2 separate regions of the Homo sapiens genome follow, and region 2 is linked to region 1. The links are contacts of gene promoters, found by promoter capture Hi-C in blood cells and fetal thymus (Javierre and others, 2016). All regions are on one chromosome and are shown on one strand. The core of a region is centred on a gene start or on the middle of the fragment in contact, and the rest is flanking DNA. Distances in the headings are between cores, read along the strand shown.

Region 1 (3,625 bases), core at 288-2,787:
AGGGAGCCCTTAGGCCCTAATGTGGACCCGGGAGTGTGGCTTAACCTCTTCCAGGCAGTGGAATAAGCAGGCAAAGGGCACAGGAGGAAGGTCCTAGGGCTGGCAGACTACACTTCCATCACCCAAGCTGCTTATTACAGTTATTTCTGATTACCACCCCCCTTTCAAAAAGCTCTGGAATGCAATAAAAATAAGGACTGGGGGGTGGGGGTGGCGCAGGCTCATAAAATTAAGAAATCCTTCCATCTGAAATCGTGATTCCAGGCCCATGAAGTAACTCATTTCTGGCCTGGGTGCCTATAAGCAAGAAGCAGGGATGTCAGGATGCCTGAATTATCCAAATTATTTGGGTCAAATTAATTTAGACTGTTTGAGAAAAGGCATTAATTTGGTTTTAGATTTCCTGGATTAGCCCTGGTATTAATTTCACAGGGAGTACTTTAGAGGACTTTTCTAAACTGGAAAATAAAGCCTTTTCCTGTGGCTGTCAAGGTCTTCCAGAGGGGTGAGCGGTCTCTCAAGGTGGTGGACTCATCCCATCCCTCAGTCCCAAACAGGCTGGGAGAGGAGATGCAAAATGGAGGTAGAGCCTGGGGCAAAGCACCAAGTCCACAGGTATCGAGTGGTAGGTAGCGAAGGGCACCCGAGAACCAGAGGGGGGCCTTGGGCAAGAATGGAACATTTAGTTAAGGGGAAAGACCTTCAGTGAAAGCCAGGCAGCGTCCTCAGGTGAGCCCACAGCAGCAAACTGGGCTGGTGGAGTGAACGTAAAGGTAAGGGTTTCCAGTATGGAAAAGGTCAAGGCTTTAAGAAGGAAAAACCGGCCGGGGGAACTGACAGTGGTGAATAAGGGAAAGCTGGGGAGACAGAGCCTGCTTGGGGTTCAGGTGCAGAGTAATGAGAGGGTGGTAGGCTTTTCGCCTTGGGGAGGACATTGTGGGAAAAGATGGTGCCATGGGGGTGCGGGGGCTGTCACAGGTCTAAGGAAGAAGAGCCGCGGGGTGCCACTGAACTAAGAGGAGGGGGTGCCGCATGGCGTGAGACCTGTCACGGTGCAAGGCGGCGGCACAAAGGGGTGTCACTGTCCTACGAGACGGGGAAATTGTCCTTGCGCGGAGGGGTAGGGGGTTGGCACGATCCTAGGGAGGGGGCGCTGCGCAGCGTTCCTGCTCTGGGAGGATTCCAAGCGGTATCCCTCTCATGGGAGGCGCCAGGCGGGTCAGGTGGAGGGCACCGCTCCCCGCCAGCCCTGCAATCGCGCCCCGGGCGCCCCCGCCCCACCGTCAGCTAGCTCCCGGGTCCGAAGGCTGAAGCCACTCCCGGGTGTGGGCAGCTTTCCGCCAGCTCAGTGCAGGGCAGGACAAAGCTGCGCGGCGAGGCAGACGACCCGCAGCGTCCTCCTCCACGCCATAAGGCCAGATCCCCGGCTCACCTGGTGTCCTCGGCCCCCTGCTCTGCCGGCCCGGCCACTCTCCGGATCCCAAGATGTCCGCCCGCCCCCTGCTCGTCTGCCCGCTGCCTCGGCTTTCACCGCAGTGCCGCCGCCCCGCCCCGGCCCCGGCTGCGCGTGCGCGCCGGCGTCTAGCGCCGACTACAAATCCCGTCAGGCCTCGCGGCCTCCTTGCTTGCAATTTGAAGCGCTCTAGGTTTAGCAAAACTACAACTACCGACTGCCTTCGAGAAACCGCCCCCGCCTCAGGAAGGGGTAGGCGTGGCCTTAGTCGGCCCTACCAGAAATACACATTCCAGCATACACCGCTCCACCCGCCTCATTTTTTTTTTTTTTTTTTTTTTTTTTTTTTTTTTCACTGAGCGCTCTGGGAATTGTAGTCCCTGCACTTCCTCCTGTTCCTATTTGTGTTCTGGAGAGCTTTGGGATATTAATGCCATTTGTGGAAGCACATCTGTTAAGCCTTGGATTGCTGTAGGCCTTTTCTGTCTCCAGAGTCCCAGGACTGGCTGTCCTCACTTTACACACAAATAAATACAACTGGGCAGTAGAAGTGTTTGTGCTGAATTTACTGCTTTCTAACACTACCTCTGATTCTCTCAAGCTTTTCTCATATATTTGTTCCGGACATGAGCTTTTTCCAAGGGATCAAGACCCAAGGAGAGGAGCGGGGAGGAAGGAGGCGACTACTTGGAAGAAACTAAACCTTTTCACAAATAAGTCCATGACTGTACACTCTTCCCGGAGGTCAGCTACAGCTTTTCATGAACGAGCCGATGTTCTCCTTAGCTATACCTATGCGACTGTGTATGCCTTCTAGTGACAGGCATATATGTTGCTTAGAAGACGTTCGAAGAGTTGAATTTAGTTTGACATGGGATTTGAAATCCCCTCTTTGATAAACAGAATCTTTACATCCAAGCTGAGGAGACAGACCCAACCCTCACACATGAAAGGCCTGCTTGGTTCTTGCAGAGTCTTAAGAAAATCTGTTGGCTCTTCTCTTTCTGTAGGCAGAGATAAACTGCTGCCTTCCTTGGGCAGGACTACGCCTGTCATGGGAGGAAGGAAGGGCAAGAAAGGACAGATCTGGTTGCAAATGTTACAGTCCTTCCCAGCCTCCAGCCAGAAGCCACGATGTGGCAGGATGAAGATCTGACCTCTCTCACATCATAGTCACGGCCTGAAGTCATTAAGTGACTGAATACAGGCACTTCTAATTTTTGAACCAGCACTCAAGGCTTCACTTCTACCTTTGCAAAAGCTTTATCTTCCAAAAATACCCTAAACTGCTACCAATTTAGAGTAAATAATAATAATGATAAAATAATAATAATAATAGCTACCATTTATTGAGCACCTACTCTACTGTGTGCCAGGCACTGTGCTAGGCACTTTTCGTACAATATCTAATTTAAATCCTCACAACAACCCTGTGAGGTAGGTATTATTATCATCATTTTACATACGAGGGAACTGAGGCTCAGAGAGGTTAAATAACTCTATCACACAACCAAAAATAGTAGAGCTGGAATTCAAACCCAAAACCACCTAACTCCAAATCCCATGCTCCAATGAATTAAAGTAGAGAGGGGAGAGGGAGGGCCAAATTCAAGACAGAGTGTTGGAGTGAAATGGATATGATATGCTGATAAGATATGGGAAGAAGGAATGTAAGCTCATAAATGTTTCTAGCTGGTGAGCCTATGTAGATTGTGATGAAGTAACCAGGAGAGGAATTCAGGAGGAACATACTTGGTTGGGCAGATGAGTTGAGTCTATACGGAACTGTCCATAGAGATGTCCAGTAGGTAATACCAATACAGATCTAAAGTCTGGGGGAAGTTGGGGGTTGGAGCTATGTATTTGGGAATCACCAGCATATCAGCAGCAATTGAGGACATCAGGATGAATGACTCCATTTTGGGAGTAAATAGAAAGGAAAGAGAAGTGAATCAAAGATGGAACGATGGAAGCACTGATACTGACAGGCATGAGCAATCGTTGAGAAATTCTCAAGAGAGTCGGACAAGACAGAGTCAGAGAGAGAAGTACATGAAACAGCCCTGTAGTGGTGGCTAGAAGCCATGGACTGGGTTGGGAACAATTCTAGAGCTCCCAGAAGGCAGGCAAGATTGAGTCACACTTCCAACAAAGCCCTCTGCACACCAAAAC
Region 2 (3,653 bases), core at 10-2,509, 250 kb after region 1:
CTTCTTTTGCAGGTGGTGGAGTTTGACACCCCATCGGTCCTTCTGTCCAACGACAGTTCCCGATTCTATGCCATGTTTGCTGCTGCAGAGAACAAGGTCGCTGTCAAGGGCTGACTCCTCCCTGTTGACGAAGTCTCTTTTCTTTAGAGCATTGCCATTCCCTGCCTGGGGCGGGCCCCTCATCGCGTCCTCCTACCGAAACCTTGCCTTTCTCGATTTTATCTTTCGCACAGCAGTTCCGGATTGGCTTGTGTGTTTCACTTTTAGGGAGAGTCATATTTTGATTATTGTATTTATTCCATATTCATGTAAACAAAATTTAGTTTTTGTTCTTAATTGCACTCTAAAAGGTTCAGGGAACCGTTATTATAATTGTATCAGAGGCCTATAATGAAGCTTTATACGTGTAGCTATATCTATATATAATTCTGTACATAGCCTATATTTACAGTGAAAATGTAAGCTGTTTATTTTATATTAAAATAAGCACTGTGCTAATAACAGTGCATATTCCTTTCTATCATTTTTGTACAGTTTGCTGTACTAGAGATCTGGTTTTGCTATTAGACTGTAGGAAGAGTAGCATTTCATTCTTCTCTAGCTGGTGGTTTCACGGTGCCAGGTTTTCTGGGTGTCCAAAGGAAGACGTGTGGCAATAGTGGGCCCTCCGACAGCCCCCTCTGCCGCCTCCCCACGGCCGCTCCAGGGGTGGCTGGAGACGGGTGGGCGGCTGGAGACCATGCAGAGCGCCGTGAGTTCTCAGGGCTCCTGCCTTCTGTCCTGGTGTCACTTACTGTTTCTGTCAGGAGAGCAGCGGGGCGAAGCCCAGGCCCCTTTTCACTCCCTCCATCAAGAATGGGGATCACAGAGACATTCCTCCGAGCCGGGGAGTTTCTTTCCTGCCTTCTTCTTTTTGCTGTTGTTTCTAAACAAGAATCAGTCTATCCACAGAGAGTCCCACTGCCTCAGGTTCCTATGGCTGGCCACTGCACAGAGCTCTCCAGCTCCAAGACCTGTTGGTTCCAAGCCCTGGAGCCAACTGCTGCTTTTTGAGGTGGCACTTTTTCATTTGCCTATTCCCACACCTCCACAGTTCAGTGGCAGGGCTCAGGATTTCGTGGGTCTGTTTTCCTTTCTCACCGCAGTCGTCGCACAGTCTCTCTCTCTCTCTCCCCTCAAAGTCTGCAACTTTAAGCAGCTCTTGCTAATCAGTGTCTCACACTGGCGTAGAAGTTTTTGTACTGTAAAGAGACCTACCTCAGGTTGCTGGTTGCTGTGTGGTTTGGTGTGTTCCCGCAAACCCCCTTTGTGCTGTGGGGCTGGTAGCTCAGGTGGGCGTGGTCACTGCTGTCATCAATTGAATGGTCAGCGTTGCATGTCGTGACCAACTAGACATTCTGTCGCCTTAGCATGTTTGCTGAACACCTTGTGGAAGCAAAAATCTGAAAATGTGAATAAAATTATTTTGGATTTTGTAAAACTCTTCGTGTATCAAACAATTCTCTGGGAAGGGAGTGAGATATCCCTGAATGGCTTTGGGACCTGCATATCCAGCAATGGAGTTGCATCTGGGAAGGACTGGTAGCAAAGCTGGTTGGTTGCAAGGGCCATGGGGCCCTGAACACCTGGAATCATCTCTGTGGGCCTTAGTCCCGCTGCCTGTGTTCCTGGACATGGTCCCCAAATAAAGCTCCTTGGCTGCCCATAAGAGGGTGGGGAGTGGAAAGGTGAGTGGTTGTGGTGAGGTGGGTGGTCGTGGTGAGATGTATTTAAAATGAATAGTTTATCGAGGATTCTTAGCAATTCAAACAATATAATTACCCTTTCAGCCAATTCATTCAGATTCACCCATTGAAAATTAGTAACCCCGTCTCTACTAAAAATACAAAAATTAGCCTGGTGTGGTGGCAGGCACCTGTAGTCCCAGCTACTCAGGAGGCTGAGGCAGGAGAATCACTTGAACTCGGAGGTGGAGGTTGCGGTGAGCTGAGATCGTGCCATTGCACACCAGCCTGGGCGACAGAGTGAGACTCCGTCTCAAAAAAAAAAAAAAAAAAAAAGCAAAGGGTACTCATTCTAAAGTTTCTGACTATATTGTGTTGAATGCAGCCAAGAAAGCTTTTAAACTGGTATTAGTTTGCTGGCCATCAGTAGAAATTATACTAATTTTTCTAAAGTACCTGTGCTGTCGTGAGAACCCAGGAGCTTGACTCTAAAGTTAAAACTTTAGTTCCTAGAGTGTCACATTTCAAGCGCTCAGTAGCTGTATGCGACCTGTACAACATAGTAATGTACAGTGCAGATATAGGACGTGTCGATCATTGCAGGAAGTTCTGTTGGGCAGCTCCAATCTAAACGGTAACCACTTTTACTGAGGCACTAGATTTATCTTCCAAGAAGGTAACAAGGTCAGCAGAACGAGACCCTTCAAACTGCTGGGATTACAGGCATGAGTCACTGTGCCCAGCCTAAATTGGATTTTTAAAAGCAATTTCCATTTTGCCATTTTGTGCTTTCCCAGCTCATAATTCTCTGTTGCCAAGTAGAGTAGGCTAACAGGTGTAAGAAACAAGCCCAGACTTTCAGCAGTTTACCACAGTAACCAAACTCCTGTAGCAAAGCAGTGTGGTCTGTGGAGGGGTGGAATGAAGGTTCTGCCCGTGCGTTCAGGAACCCAGTCTCCCTCCCTCCTGGTCACCCTGCAAACCTCTAGATTTGAGCTTCTCTGCTGGATCCACTGTGCTGATCAGAGAAGAGAGCACAGAATGTTGAGCAGAAAGTGTTATGAAACAGGCCTGAAAACATTAGACATCGCTTCTGTGCTCGTTTTCTTGGCTAGAACTCAGGGGCACCTGTAAGCTAAGCACTGTACTAGGTACTTCTAGCATGGCCTTACGTGATTTTCTCAACCACTTTACAAGGTAGCTAAAATTAAGCACATTTTGCTGATGAGGAAAGGCTCGTGAAGATTTAACTTGTCTCAAGCCAATATCCAGTATGAAGTGAATCACACAGAATTCAAACCCAAACAGCCTGCTCCCAGAGTTCAAGCTGTTCCTCATCTCATGACCTGAGCTTCAATTTCATCAGCAAATTCAATTTCATCAAATGCATGTGCTAGATCAGATTGCCTCTAAGATTTCTTCCAGCTCTAACTCCATGACTAGTGTGAGTCCATAACTAGGACCTGAAAAACCTGGATCCTGCTCACCTCATTTGGGACATGGCTCTAGAACTCTGCCTCTTCCTCTTTGCTTCCACTAGGGAGGTGGTGTGTACTGGGAGCAGATTTCCTCTTTTCCTGGAATCTTTTCTGTGTCCTGTTTCTTTCTGCCTGTGGCCTGAATTCAGCATTCTTCCTTGGCTCAGGCAAACTCCCTTCTACCTGCTCAGGTGGACTCAGCTTAGGAGGACTAAGCTGGCTGCTGTCCAAGTGAGAACCATCAGAGCTAGTACTTGGTCTCCCGCAGACCTGGCACAGCCCTGTTCTCAAAGGGGAGCTCCATACCCAGCTAGGACAGGCCAGCACCAGGCAGTTAGGACCGTGGGCACACACCTGTTGGGGCAGAGATACTGACGTTGCCTGGAATGGTTGGTTCACGGGGCTAGGGGCTGGGGGAGACTTCTCTGACTCATTTTTTGTGTCCTTGACA

What was found. Contacts are between HindIII fragments. The CHiCAGO score rates a contact against its expected background, and 5 or more counts as called.
Region 2: a fragment that was not itself captured here is called in contact with the fragment with the promoter of AP2M1 in region 1 in 1 of 17 cell types (M1 macrophages); the score reaches 5.4 in M1 macrophages.

The regions. Positions count from the first base shown.
Region 1 is chr3:184,172,767-184,176,391 of GRCh38, reverse strand. AP2M1 (adaptor related protein complex 2 subunit mu 1) reads right to left here and starts at 1,537. Exons shown (of 12, transcript NM_004068.4): 1 at 1,433-1,537. DVL3 (dishevelled segment polarity protein 3) reads right to left here. Exons shown (of 15, transcript NM_004423.4): 15 at 2,778-3,625. RefSeq lists a silencer at 1,160-1,209 and an enhancer at 1,420-1,489. The HindIII fragment of the contact is 5,273 bases long and covers 1-2,056 here.
Region 2 is chr3:183,917,761-183,921,413 of GRCh38, reverse strand. It overlaps ABCC5 (ATP binding cassette subfamily C member 5), which reads left to right. Exons shown (of 30, transcript NM_005688.4): 30 at 13-1,480. The coding sequence ends at 114. Among named protein-coding and RNA genes, the nearest start is that of MIR4448, 33 kb to the right of the region's middle. The HindIII fragment of the contact is 1,722 bases long and covers 399-2,120 here.